Regions from separate parts of the Homo sapiens genome. Here all the other regions are linked to region 2. Evidence: promoter capture Hi-C in 16 types of primary human blood cells and fetal thymus (Javierre and others, 2016). All regions are on one chromosome and are shown on one strand. The core of a region is centred on a gene start or on the middle of the fragment in contact, and the rest is flanking DNA. Distances in the headings are between cores, read along the strand shown.

Region 1 (4,893 bases), core at 2,274-4,773, 2.3 Mb before region 2:
ATGCTGGGATTACAGGCGTGAGCCATCGTGCCAGGCCAGTCATTATTTTCAAAGTAATGTATGTATGTCCAATTCCTGCCAGGATCCGCCTAAATCCAAGTATTATCAAGTACTATCTATTGTAGACAGATCCATCAGGTACTAGTCAGGAAAACATCAATTGTTCCAGACACCTCCACATAACATGCATAATGCTAAGAGCATCTGCAAACAGAGGTTGTTAATGTATCATTTATGATTTTATAAATATCCACAAAACTAATATATTCAAATATCATATATATTGACCTTCCTTAAAGTCTTCCAAAATCACCCAAAGTAGACTTCCTAAGTGCCCTATGTACTCCCTGAGGGCTTTGAAAAACCCCTTTCCATAAGATTTATCATACTCCTTTATAACTGCTGTTTGCTGGTCTGGCTCCCTCATTAGACTAAATATTACAAAAAAAAAAAAGATATCTTATCCCTATCTCTGGTTCTAGAAAGTGCCTGAAATATGGCAGATAGTCAGATATTTGCCCAATGAATGTCTAATCAAAAATATGTTGCACCAAACTGAATACTACACTTAAAAGGTAATTCATTTCTTCCTAGCAATTTTTGCCATTTAAAAATATAGAGAGCAGTGCATGGTGGCTCACACCTGTAATCCTAGCACTTTAAGACGCCAAGATAGGAGGATCACTTGAGGCCAGGAGTTCAATGCCAGCCTGGGCAACATAGCAAGACTTCATCTCTAAAAAACAAAAATTAAATTAAAAAAATGAAATGTAAACTCATTTTGAAATTGTCCTATGATTGTGTTACTCAAGAAAAATTAGTTGTTGTGTAATACTTTCTCTCCAGTCCAAAATAAAAAGTCAATTTAATCAGCTACTTCATTCACTAGGTTTAGCATGAAATCACTTCTGACCATTATTAAAAGTAAATTTCATGCCTAATCAGCAATATGATTTAAGATTTTAAGGAATCTTTCCAAAATGTAAGAATTTCTAATTTTTTAAAATGTTTGGCATGATATCAGCACAGTCAGCTAAGGATGCAGTCTTTCTCATTACTGTTAAAGGGGCCTCTCACTGCCAGTCCCTTAGCACTGAGTTTTCTGGCCTCCTACACAAGAGACAGGTGTAAGACATTAAATTGCAGTTTTGCCATTAAAATAACAAAAATTACTTGCACAACCTAATATTTGAATGTATACATAATATTCATAGCATGACAGGGTCTCACTCTGTCACCTAGGCTGGAGTGTAATGGCGCAATCATGCCTCACTGCAGCCTTGAACTCCAGGGCTCAAGCAATCCTCTCACCTCAGCCTCCCAAGTAGCTAGAACTATATGCCCATGTCACCAAACCCAGCTTTTTTTTTTTCTTTTTTGATAGAGACAGGGTTTCACTATGTTGCCCAGGCTGGTCTTGAACTCCTGGCATCAAGTGATCCTCCCAGCTTGACCTCTCAAATTGTTGAAATTACAGGTGTAAGCCACCATGCTCAGCCTCAACTTTTTATCTTTAAACAATAGTATAGAATAGTAGTACAAATTTGGAAAACATAAAATTATCAAGAATATAAAACCAACCAGAATGTACAACTAATATAGTATTGGTAATATTAATACATTTGTGCTTTAAAATGAACGTGAGAGCTATAGTTACATATGCTCTACATACAGCTGCTTTCAAGACTAGAAAATTAGCAAGGCTTAAAAGATTATAAACAGGATGATGAAGGATTACGGTAGTAAAATGGTGACTGTACAAACCTATTCCTCATTGTTTGAAGAGCAATTTGACAATACCTGTTCAAAAGCCTTTAAAAATTAATATGCCCTTTTTTATAGCAACTCCAAGTATAAGAACTTATCCTAAGAAACCATTCTAGAGCTACAAAAATATTTAGCTGTACTAATTATCATTCCCACCGTTGATAACAGGCAAAAAAAAAAACTTTAAAGCAACATTCTAAAATGTCCAATAAAAATGAATTACAGAGTATCATTTAAAATGATGTTGTAGGAATATTCTTAGTGACAAATATGATGTCTTTAGAAAATATCTCTATTTTCTATAACTATGTATTATTTAATTTTTAAAAATAAAATTAATATCAAAAAGATGGTGCCAAATACATAAAAATATATGAAAATGTTCTCAAAATCAAAGAGAATTAAGTGTTAAAGGAAAAAGGATGACACAGAACATTATGTACATTGTATTTTAAGAAAATAATGTTAGTTCTGCTTCCTGTTTTTGCTTAGTTTGTATTCACAAAGTTTGCTCTGCTTGACTTCAGATATTAAGCTATAGGTATAGACATTGCTTTTTAAATGCAATATTCAAATTAAATTAATAACAAAAATCTAGAATCAAAAATGGGAGATAAGAGCAAATTCAGGCAAAAGCTTTCAGTACTTTGTCAGAATAATAGTATGATATATTAAAAAGAATATCTAATTTGTCAATTGCCCTTACTGGCTGTGAACATTAGCCACACTGGTATACACACAGTCACGTGTTCCATTCATATTAGCATACCTGTTTCTAGGAGCCGGGAATCTAATACTGGTTTTAATACTGTCAATTGAAGGCACAAACACTAGTGTTCAGGTTAGATGACGCACATTCCTGTTTTCACAAATCCATGCTGCCCCCTTCTGGGTATTTTTGGAGATTACGTGACCAAAAGTTTAATATGATAAATTAAACAAAAAGTATTCATTCTTTAACTAATATATTAAAGAACTTAGCCTATATGCTTACATGTAGAAACATATCACTGGTACTAAACAGTTTATTTTTCGGCATTTTCGAAAACTTCTGTTCTGAATAATTCTAACAACAGAAAGACAGCTCTGAGAATTTAATCGTCAATGTAAATGAGGAAAATAAATAGTAAATATTAAATAGCTATAATACTAAAAGTAAATAAAACATGACACTTTAATAAGTTTCCCTACTCCTTCCTCTCACTCTCAAAAGTAAACCAGGGTCTGAATTTGGCACTAGCTTTCCCTTCGGTTTTAATATTTTTACTACCTATACATGTATCCAAAAATATGCAGTATGGATTTGTGTTTTTAAAATGTAAATAAATGGTATCACACTGTATTACACACACAAAGGTTTCATACCACAAACTGTACTTCTAAATCCAGCTACCTACCACAATTGAAAATCAACTAAGAAAATATGGATAGTTTCATGTAAAATATCACCACAATTCAATAAGTTGGCAATATTATACTGGGTGATTAGTGTTATTTTTTAATTCATGAATTTTCACTGCTGTCAATCATATCTATCTGGTTTGTTAAGGAAAATGTTTTATAACGTACTCTTGATATATTAAAATAATTTTATTCCCTCAGTATTTTTTCCAAAACCTAGTTTCTTTCTCTAAGAGTAACCTATGTGGAAATACAAGAAAAAGTGCCTGGATCTTGGACAATAGACTCTTTAAAGCTAAAATCTATAATAAAAGGAGAACGATAAGCAACAGGGAAAGGTAAAATAAACTGGGAGGGAGGTGGAAGGGACGATGTCAGATCATCTCATCTGTAACTACATAATTCTAATGATGGAGCGTTGGAGGAAGTTTCCTGCCGCAGCACTCCAAAGGCATTAAAAATATCTGCCTTCCCTTTCACCAGCTCTCTTCAGATTCCCCAGGCAACTGGTACACTCTTGGCCTCCCCTATCCCAGAGTTCAGATTTTGCTAATTCACCCAAGTCTACCTCTCACAACTACTCCAATCTGAAAATCATTCTCTCTCTAACCACGCTGTGTTGTGTAAATTTTGTAGTTGTCAGAATAAAATTAAGCTAATATTCTATAGTTCTGAAGCATTAAAACACTGTAAAATTGAAAATATCTGAAGGATTAATAAGACATTGCACTCAAGGTTAAGGGAACCAAAAAGCTGGAGAACAGGAGAGAAAGGGAGACTTGCACTTCCTTAGTAATATTTATACCTTTTGCATTTTATACTATGTGCATCACTACCTATTTATGAAATATTTTAAGGTACCATAGTAAACAGTCCAAGTACAGATGAAAAGTTAATAGCCCAGTTTAAATTTTAGCTGTTTTTAAAAAAAAGTTTCTAATACATCTCCTATATCTAATATTTGAAGTGGCAATATAATTTAATAACAACATAAAAAGCTCGAGTTTAAATTTGAATCCTATTAAAATTCATAAGAACTGTCACATCTGAATAGCAATAAATCATGAGAAAACCACTCATTTAAAAATAATAAACATAACTTGGAATGATAAAAATGGTATAGGACTTTATATCTGTCATATAATTTTTATACTGTGAACAGCTTTATTTCAAGCAAATGATATATAGTAGTTTGTTTTATCAAGAAACTGAACCTTTATATACTCTTAAAAAAACAGAAATGGCAAATAACCTAATATTAGAAACCTCAAAACCACAGATTCCAACACCTCTCAAGAAGTCAATATGTAGTTAGTCAAACCTCTCAGGTCTTTTCAAGTAGTTTACCAAAGCTCCTTGTTTCTCTGGGTACCTATAATACGCCCTTGCCATCATCACCAAAACATTTGTGATTTATAGTCTGCCTGTACCAGGCTTAAATACTTACCTTATCCTCCTTCTAAAATGTAAGCTTATATTTCTTGGAACATTTAAACACATTACTTCCTCAACTGTTCTCAATAACCCTTCAGAACTACACAATCCTGAATTATTTCAAAATTTTATATCTTAAAGGGTACCTTCAGATTTTTTAATTTTCTTACATTTTAATTCTTTAAAATAATCCGTATCAGGTAAAAGCTAAATATCAGTTAACCAGACTATTCAACGAATCAATACTGAATTTCAAAGATCTTTTCCTAAATGAACTTTTGCTTTTTTAAG
Region 2 (4,570 bases), core at 462-2,961:
TATAACAACTTTTAATGTAATCTTAGTAACTATTAAATTTGGCTTTAAAACATCGAAAGTTTTCTAATTAAATAAGAGACAAAGTAAAACATCATCCTACCACAGCGTTAGAGCATGCAATGGCCATTACAAGAGATCTGACCGTGGTCAGTGCAAATGGCAGAACATAAGGTAACAGTTGTTTCGTCTCATTGATTTATCTGAATTCTGTAATACTGGTATATCTCTGACGAATGGCTAAACTAAGCCAGCTTTACCTTTTTCGTATCCCTTTTATTTAAAGAAGTTTAAACTCACTCAAGTAAATTTGTTTGGATAAGCCTGACCAAATGTTTTCTGTCTTTGAATGCCGAACAGGCTACTGATTTTATTTTACAAAACCTTGAAAGAGAAAGCTGTTGTATTGGTCTCCGTAAGTGGGTGATAACATTTACTAGTTATTTCAACTCACAGGACAGACAAAAAGAAAATGCACAATTTAAGTTTCATTATGAAAAGTTTTCCAACTTTTCCCCAAAAGAGTATACAAAAGTAGAATCGTTCAATAAACCCCTATGTACTCATCATCCTGCTTCCAACAATCGCTGAACAGACCCCAATTGTAGCTAAAGTGGGTAGGGACCCACCCACTTCTCCCCACTTCAGCCACAGGATTATTTTGAACCCCACATATCTCATGCAAATCCCATATATCTTACCATTTCCTCCGTACAGGCTTCAGTTCGAATCTCCAAAAGAAAATCCATCACGCGGAAGAACAGAATGTTAAACTTATTGACAACAAATTTTAACTAACTTTGATTCAAAAACAGAATGTTCAGTGTTAAATAGCCAATGGGAATATCGCACAGGAAATTAAGAACAACTCTTGGAAATAGCTCTGTGACTGCTAAGTTAGGAAAGGGAACGTTTGTTTACTCGGCAGCAGAAAACCAGGAACCCACCGACCGGCCAGCGAAGGTCGCCCGTCTCCAGCAGTGCGCATCGTTCCCCTACCCCGGGCGCCCTGAATTCCAATTTTTCCAGTCCCAATCAGGCGACACCCTCCCTTTGGTGTTCCACCGCCCGTCAGTCACAGACACAGACAAGTTCTTCAGTGAGATGCTTTTCACTCCGAAACCATTTATTCAGCAGCCAGGGCGAGCGCAGCAATGGACTGAAGGAGAAGTGTTCCGAAGCGACAGCCCCAGAGCGCAAGCCCCTTCCTGTCGCCGCCTCAGGTCCGCAGACGCCCGTGTGAGCCCCCTCCGCCGCGTCCCGCGACCCTCCCTCGCCCAGGGGGCACTCCCCCTACAGTGTTCTTCCTTCCACAGAGACTCCACAAGCGCCCTCCCTCAGGAGACGTCTCCTCCTCTTTCCTCGCCACTCTCCTTTCGCCTTTTCTCGGCTGTCACAGGATGGGACAACCCTCGAAAAGACACCCTCCTTTCCGTCCTAACTCACCCCTAAGGCCCCAAAATAAAAATAAAGGAAAACAAAAACAAAAACCGCACACTTCCACAGCTCTCCGCCGAAAGCTCAGGCCTGTTACCCAACGCGAGACACCACAAAGCATCCCCAACCCGGACACCGCCCCGCCTCAGGCTCGGCTCACTCGCAGCTTCCTCCGCAGTCACAGCAGAGCTCGACACCCGCGCTCGCTTTCAAACCGCCCCAACATGGCGCCGGCCTGCGGTGCGCATGCGCGGCAGTGGGGCGCCGGGCGCGAGCGGAGATGAGGGAGCGGCCGGAGAAGAGAGGATGCTGTTGAGCGTTAGGTCGCGACCCCTGCTGGAAGGTGCTGTTTCTCCCTCCTTTCTGGGGCTGGGAATGGGGGGATGTGGGCTGCATCCAAGTCGCTGCCCCCCACGCCCTTCCAACCTCCGTCACAGCTATTCTCGGCCAGTTTGCGCGGGGACTTGCTGATCTCCCTTCAGCCGGCCCCGGGGTCTGCGGGAGGGGACTGGGTGGGGAGGGAGACTTAAGGGCGCTGGCGGCTGTCGTTCCGGTCGCTGAGAGTCTGCCCCACAGCTCCAGTTTTTCCAAGTGAGTTCAGCCTCCCCGCTTCCAGAGCATCCCCCGCCAAAAATAAGATATCGTCTCAGCTAGTAGGCAGTCCCCCCTCACCACTTCTTTCACTCCCTCTTCAGTGCCTTTCCTCTCACACCCCGGAGCCTCTCACACACAAAGCAGATGGGAGATTGGAGACCCGAGTTTAGCCAGGGATGGGATTTAACAAACTCCTAGGAAGCCTTGATTCCCAGGGAAGAATGGCAGTGACCCCGCACGGATTGGGGACCCAGTCAGGCAGCTCAGAAAGAGGGTCATTGTACAAACAGATGTAAAGACTCACTAACATGTGTGAACCTGTCTGTAAGTCTGGAAGGAATCCAGTTTCAACCAATTGGTGTATCAAAAAAAGAGGCCATCCCAATGTTGGTTTATGTTTATTTTCCACTGACCCTATGAGTGAAGATATCCTTGACCATGAGTCCATCTGAATATGTTCCAGCTCATCCGACGTTCCACCACCATGTAATACAATTGTAGTCTTACTGTTTGCACTTTCTTCTTTTTACCCTTTGTAGCCTACTAAATTTTACCTTCCCTTTTCTCTTAGCAAATGAAAAAGTCCGGAAGCTATAACGTTCAGTTTAGTGGTTAAACACAGGTCTATTGTGGCAGTAATAGTTGGTGATTTGAAAATAAGACATACCCTGCTAGTGGTATGTCCCAATAATCTTCAAAGTCTCTAGATCAATTAATATCAAGTAGGTTTCCAATAGGAAATCAAGAACGGTGTTTTATATGCTAAGACGAGCCCTGGTCGGGGATTAACAATCCTTGTTAATTGTTAGTGACGTAAGCTTAAAAACTTAAATTTTTGTATCCACGTTCCACCTAAGTGTCTTTTTAAACTGAGTTCCTTTAAAATAGTTTCTTAAAGATTCTTTTTATAAACAGTATCTTTTAAAGTTTTTTGTACTATATTTTTCTTTCATCTTGGGGCATATATGTAGCAAATGTTTCCTAATGAAGACAAAGTATAGATAAAGGACACTGAGAAGATATAAAGAAAATTATCAAATATATTGACCTAATTCATGGATCAAAATAATTCTACTTCTGCCTTGTTTCCTCACAGGTTAAGAGATATGGAGATTTCCACAAGGATTTGGAGAGGAGCCCCAGTAGTTACTAAAATTCTGCATTAGATCTGTCAGGAAAGGTAAAGAAACCAGGACTCTGCTAGGAAAGAGGAGGTTATAATAATGGTTTACTAAAACTTTTCAAATATAGAGACTATCAACTACCTGTTGTGCCTTGCTGGAGAATTAAATAAGAGAAAATAGATTTATGATCCAACCTGAAGAGTTTTAAGTGAGAGCTAAGGAAGAAATGTTCCAATAATTAAACTTTAAGAAGGTTTATTTAAGTGCTTAAGGAAGCAGATCTTTGGAGAGTTTTTTAAATGATGGATTTATATGTGTCCATTTTTTTAAAGAGAAACTAACTATTTTGATAACCTAGTATAGGGCTCCACACTGTTTAAAGCATTTTTACATATATTAACTCAACTAATCCTTATAATGATTCGGTGAGATAGATATTATTATCCCCATTCTATAGATATGGAAGTTGAAGTTCAAAGGTTAAGCAATTTATCCAAAATAATATAGCTGTACTAAGTGACAAAGTCAGGATTTGAATCCAGTTCTGTTTTCACCTTACCTGCCAGCTTCCCCTAACTGAAAGCTGGATGATGACCCGAAGGACCAGTGAGACTGCAGCTTCCGGAACTCATTCACAGCAGTAATAGTTATGTCTAGTATCTTACTCAACTGTTGTTGCTACATCTACCACAGTGCCTGTCTCAGTCCTTTTGGGCTGCCATAAGAAATTACCAAAGACTGAATGACTTGTAAACAATAAATTTATTTCTCAGAGTTCTGGATCCTGGAAGTCTGAGATCTGGGTGCCAGCATGGTTAGGTTCTGGTGAGGGCCCTCTTCTGGTTGCAGACTGCTAACTTCTGGCAGTGTCCTCACATGGAAGAAGGGGCCATTGAGCTCCCTGGGGTCTCTTTTGTGAGGGCACTAATCCCATTCATAAGGGCTTTGCCCTCATGACCTAATCATCTCCTAATATCACCCTGGGAGTTAGGATTTCAACATATGAATTTTAGGGAGACATAAACATTCAGTCCATTGCAGTTTCTAACTTCAAGCAGGGTTCAATGTGTTTAAATTGAGTTGATTTAAACTTGATCCTATCTGAGGAGGTGACATTTAAGCAAAGATACCTATGAAACAGTCAGTTATATGAACACATTGCAGAAGACAGTGACAAGCAGAAGGAACAGCAAGTACAAAGAACCTGAAGTCAGAAATTGCTTTATTGTATGTGAGGAACAGCCAGGAGATCAAATGATTGGAGCTAAGTGGACAAGAAGAAGACTGGTAGGAGGTATATTTGAAGAGGAAGCCAGGGGTCAGATCGTGTAGTGCCACTGCTACGCACTTTAAATAATCCTCAAGAACACATAACCAACAGCTCATAATGCTTCACAAGACAAAGGACGTGTGATTAA
Region 3 (4,946 bases), core at 1,838-4,337, 2.3 Mb before region 2:
CTCTGCCTCCCAGGTTCAAACGATTCTCCTGCCTCAGCCTCCCAAGTAGCTGAGATTACAGGCATGCGTTACTAGGCCCAGCTAATTTTGTATTTTTAGTAGAGACGGGGGTTTCACCATGTTGGTTAGGCTGGTCTCGAACTCCTGACCTCAGGTGATCCACCAGCCTTGGCCTCCCCACAGTGCTGGGATTACAGGCGTGAGCCACTGCGCCCGGCTGGGTTTATTTCTTTATACATTGTAGAAAGCTAGCGGTTTACTGTATTCTTTTTCTCAAACAGCATAACTCAAAATCCTTCTAACATACACATTTTATATATTGGACTAAGCAGATAAGTTTTCAGTCAGAAGGTTTAGAGTAGAAAAGTAACTTTTTTTTTTTCTTCATTTTAAATGTCTGGACTAGGTGATCTCTTGAACCTTTTGCAGTGAAATAAGAAATCGTAGATTGTGCAAAGGGCAGCTAATCAAGGTGTGTGCAAGAGAAAAAGGTGTAATTCTGAAATTCAAGCATACTGGGTGCATAATATTGTAGAGCTGGGAAAAGTCCTTGGAGAGTCCTTTTATTTTATACAGAGAAATCAGGTGACTTGTTCATGATCTCAGCTAATGGAAATTTGTTTACTCTCAACTGCTCCTGTTAAGGAGACAGACATCTTATGTAAAATGATCAATTGGCTGGGCACAGTGGCTCACACTTGTAATCCCAGTACTTTGGGAGGCTGAGGTGGGAGAATCACTTGAGTCTAGGAGTTTGAGACCAGCCTGGGCAACATAGGCAGACCTCGTGTCTTCAAAACATCAAAAATTGGCAGGGTATGGTGGCACGTGCCTGTAGTCTCAGCTGCTTGGGAGGCTGAGGTGGAAGGATCACTTGAGCCTGAGGGAATGAGGCTGCAGTGAGCCATGATTATGCCACTGCACTCAACCTGGGTGACAGAGTGAAACCCTAAAAAAAAAAAGAAAAAAGAAAATGATCGATTTATTTGAATGATTGTTTTGTGAAAGTGTGCTGCTGTATATATTTGTGAGTTTGTATATATTTATGCTTCTCTGCTGATGCATTTTGATTTTTGACCAAAGTTCCAACCTCTGATGGCTAACTGAAATTAAAGAATCTAGATAAAGTTAAATCTTGAAACAGTTTTTTGCACAGTAACCATAATTTTAATAGTCTGTTCAGCTGCAAGATGTGTGTCTGTAACACCAGTTAGCTCGTAAATAATTGATGAATAGAGAGATGTCAATGTGATATGGAAGTTGTATTGGTTCATGTGTGATTATTCCTAGGTAGTGAAAAATAGAAATAAAACCTTCATCTGGAAGCAGAAAGCTCTCAGCCACACAGGCAAATTCCCTCTCTTGTTTATTTTAAGAAAGTTAATGAAGTTAAATAAGAGTGCCTACACCTAGCGTTTGTTCCCCAGAAGGGTTTATTTTCAGTGTTGCATTTTCTCCTGTCCCTTCCTTAATGGCAGCCCCACTGGCTCAGAGCTCCACTTCAGTCTGCTTTGTCACAACACCTGTAAGCATCATTTCCAGTTGATTTTGTTCTTTTCAAATATTCCCCAAGGTCGCTTCCAGCTCTGAGCCACATGCTGGGATGTCCATCTTTTTCCTGAATCCTAGTTACTGTCTTTTTTTTTTTTTTTCTTTTCCAAGTTGGAGTCTTGCTCTGTTGCCCAGGCTGGAGTGCACGATCTTGGTGACCTTGGCTTAACTACAACCTTCCGGGTTCAAGTGATTCTCCTTCCTCAGCCTCCCGAATAGCTGGGACTATAGGCATCCGCTATCACGCCTGGCTAATTTTTGTACTTTTAGTCGAGATGGGGTTTCACCTTGTTGGCCAGGCTGGTCTTGAACTCCCACCCTAAAGTGATCCACCTGCCTTGGCCTCCCAAAGTGCTGAGATTACAGGCATGAGCCATCATCGGGCCCAGTCTGGTTACTATCTTTCTTACTGATCTTGTTACAAAATTGCATGGGTTTCAAGTAGTTTGCCAACAAACTTATTTTTCCCATAAATTCTCTCTTTTTGGTGTGTGTTTTTGCAGGAGGGTGGTTTTCATGAATGGATATATTGTACTATAGAATGGATACCTCTGTAATTTGTGACACCTGTGTAAATGCAGTTAACACTAAATTCTTCTCAACTCATTTAATATTTTAAAATGAAAATACCTATTCATCACAAAAAAGCAAAGGATGCAGAATTATGGATACTAACTGTTCATTGTGCCTGTCTCTGTCTTTTTACCCCCTATGCATTTATATATATACATAGGTTTGAAATGTGATCCTAGAGAACATTTTATAATGAGACTTTCTTCCCCCCTAAACACTGCAAAGTATCAGGCTGGGGTGCAGTGGTGTGATCTTGGCTCACCGCAACCTCCGCTTCCCGGGTGCAAGTGATTCTCCTGCTTCAGCCTTCTGAGTAGCTGGGATTACAGGCATGCGCCACCATGCCTGGCTAATTTTTGTATTTTTAGTAGAGATGGGGTTTCACCATGTTGGCCTGGCTGATCTAGAACTCCTGGACTCAAGTGATCCGCCCATCTTGGCCTCCCAAAGTGCTGGGATTATAGGCGTGAGCCAGCGTGCCTGGCCCCTGTCATAACTTTTTAAACTAGTTTTCCATTAATTGCCATTTAAGTTGTTTTCTAACTTTACTATTACAAACATGTTACATTGAACTTCCTTATACTACATGTTATTGTGAAATAGAGTAAGTGTTGTTAAAATGGAATAGACTTTCAAAAGGGCAATTATTGGGTCTTGGCTTGTGTTCATCTAAAATGAATAGATATGACCCAATCAGTGGCCTTTGAAAAACAGTGTAGTGATATATATTCCCATTTATAAAGTTTAAGACTAATTTTAGTTGACTGTAAATATTATTTTCTTAGATTTTTGGTGTATGGCTTTCAGGATAACACAAGGTGAAATGCTGATTGAAATGTTAAGAATGTGGAGTTGATCACAACTTGAGTTTTAACATTTGTTTTTATTTTGTGCATTAGATTTGCTTTTTCTTGCATTTCTTATTTCTGCAAACTTTTATTGAGACATACATGGCACACAATTAGAAATGTATAGTTCAATTAATTTTCACAAACTGAACACACCTATTTAATCAGCTTCCAGACAAACAAAACATTGCTAGCCTCCAGAAGTCTTATTCTATCAGTAACTCACTAAGGTAACCATTGTCTTGATTTCTGATACCATTGATTGGTTTTGTCTGTATTTGAACTGTATGTAGTCATATAGTATATGCTAGTAGTTGCTTTCTTTCCTCAATGTTATTTGTGAGGTTCATCCATGTTTTTGCAAGAGGTTTTATACCAGTTATTTTCATTATTGTGTAGTATTTCATTGTATAACTATAATTAGCTTACCCATTCTTTTGTTGATAAGAATTTAATTGTTTCTGATTTTTGACTCTTAGAACTATTACTAATAATACTTTTTCAAATGTTCTAAGGTGAACATGTGTCTTAGATGTATTCCCCAGGAATTTTGATGGGTTGGTGTATTTTAGCAGTTTGGTTTTTTTCCCTCCAAAATGGTTAATACCAGCTTGCACTCTCACAGTATATAAAAGTTTAGTTGCTCTGCATTCTTGACAATACTTAATTCTTCTTGTAGCTATTTTTGCTGAGTTGGTTTTAATCTGCATTTCCCGGGTATCCCTGATGACTAATGAAGTAGAACATCTTTCCTGCTTTATAGAAAGTTTTTGACTTTATTTATTGACTGTTTGGATAATCTCATTTGTCAAGTACCTATTCAAGGGTTCATTCTTTTTCTTTTGGGTTTCAGTCTTCTCCTTGTTTTGTAGGAGTTCTTTACGTATTAGAAGTATAAGTCCTTTGTTTGATATGTTTTGCAAATACTTTTTCCTAGTCTCTTAAAGACATTTTTTGATGAATAAAAGGTTTTAATCTTCCAGTTTATCAAATATAGTCCAGTCTGTCAAACCTTTTTTTTTTTTTAGTACTTCTTGTGTTTTGTATAAGAAATCATTGCTTAGTTTGAGGTTTTGAAAGTGTCTTCCTGTATTTTTTCCTAAAACCCTCCTTGTTTCACCTTTTACATTTAGATCTACAACCCATCTGGAATTGGTTTTTGTGTATGGTGTGTTGAGATTCATTTCTTTTCCTGTATGAGTATATAGTTGATCTAGCAGTATTTATTGAAAAGACCATCCTTTTCCCACTGCAATGCTACATCAAGTTTTTCAGACATCAGAGTACTGTATGTGAGATGGGTCTGTTTCTAGACTCTTCTTTCAAAGGAAAACTGATTTGATCATTTTGCTTATTCTTGTACAAGTACTATATTCTCTTAATAAAGGTTTATGATAGTTCTTAAGATCTGATAATATAATTTTTTCAGATTAGAACCTCAAAACGACTTGGGCTGTCCTTGGCATTTCTCTATAATTTTTAGAATGGAAATTTGTTAATTTCTACAAGAAAACCTGCTGAGATCTTACATCAGTTGTAAAGATCAAATTGAGTAAAATTGGTATCTTGGCAATATTGAGTTTCAAATTCATAAGCAGAGTAAATTCCTCCATTTATTTAGGTTTTCTTTAATTTCTCTCAGTGAGAACAAAGCTAGAAGACTTAACACTATTAGTTATGAAGACTAAATGTAACATCTGGGCTCATTAAGACAGTATAGTATTGATACAAGTATATGTAAATAACTTACTCAAATAGACCAGAGAATCAGGCCTAGGGTTATGGTTCATGCCTGTAATGTCTGCACTTTGGGAGGCCCAAGGCAGGAGGATCACTTGAACCCAGGAGTTTGAGACCAGCCTGGGCAATATAGTGAGACCCTGCTTCTCAAAAAAAAAAAAAATGTAGCTTGGTAGCTGGGTGTGGTGGCATGCACCTGTAGTTGCAGCTACTTGGAAGGCTGAGGTGGGAGGA

Evidence for each region. The method cuts DNA at HindIII sites, captures the fragments that hold promoters and counts their contacts. A CHiCAGO score of 5 or more calls a contact.
Region 1: a fragment that was not itself captured here is called in contact with the fragment with the promoter of STARD6 in region 2 in 1 of 17 cell types (total B cells); the score reaches 5.5 in total B cells.
Region 3: a fragment that was not itself captured here is called in contact with the fragment with the promoter of STARD6 in region 2 in 2 of 17 cell types (total B cells and fetal thymus); the score reaches 5.4 in total B cells.

Annotation. Positions count from the first base shown.
Region 1 is chr18:56,700,861-56,705,753 of GRCh38, reverse strand. The region is part of intron 12 of WDR7 (WD repeat domain 7); the gene reads right to left. Among named protein-coding and RNA genes, the nearest start is that of WDR7, 52 kb to the right of the region's middle. The HindIII fragment of the contact is 2,236 bases long and covers 2,406-4,641 here.
Region 2 is chr18:54,354,999-54,359,568 of GRCh38, reverse strand. STARD6 (StAR related lipid transfer domain containing 6) reads left to right here and starts at 1,711. Exons shown (of 8, transcript NM_139171.2): 1 at 1,711-1,777; 2 at 3,125-3,208. It overlaps C18orf54 (chromosome 18 open reading frame 54), which reads right to left and starts at 1,663. Exons shown (of 9, transcript NM_001288980.2): 1 at 1,494-1,663; 2 at 699-795. RefSeq lists enhancers at 1,077-1,146, 648-1,159. The HindIII fragment of the contact is 3,120 bases long and covers 1-2,848 here.
Region 3 is chr18:56,626,910-56,631,855 of GRCh38, reverse strand. The region is part of intron 1 of TXNL1 (thioredoxin like 1); the gene reads left to right. Among named protein-coding and RNA genes, the nearest start is that of TXNL1, 9.2 kb to the left of the region's middle. The HindIII fragment of the contact is 7,386 bases long and covers 1-4,946 here.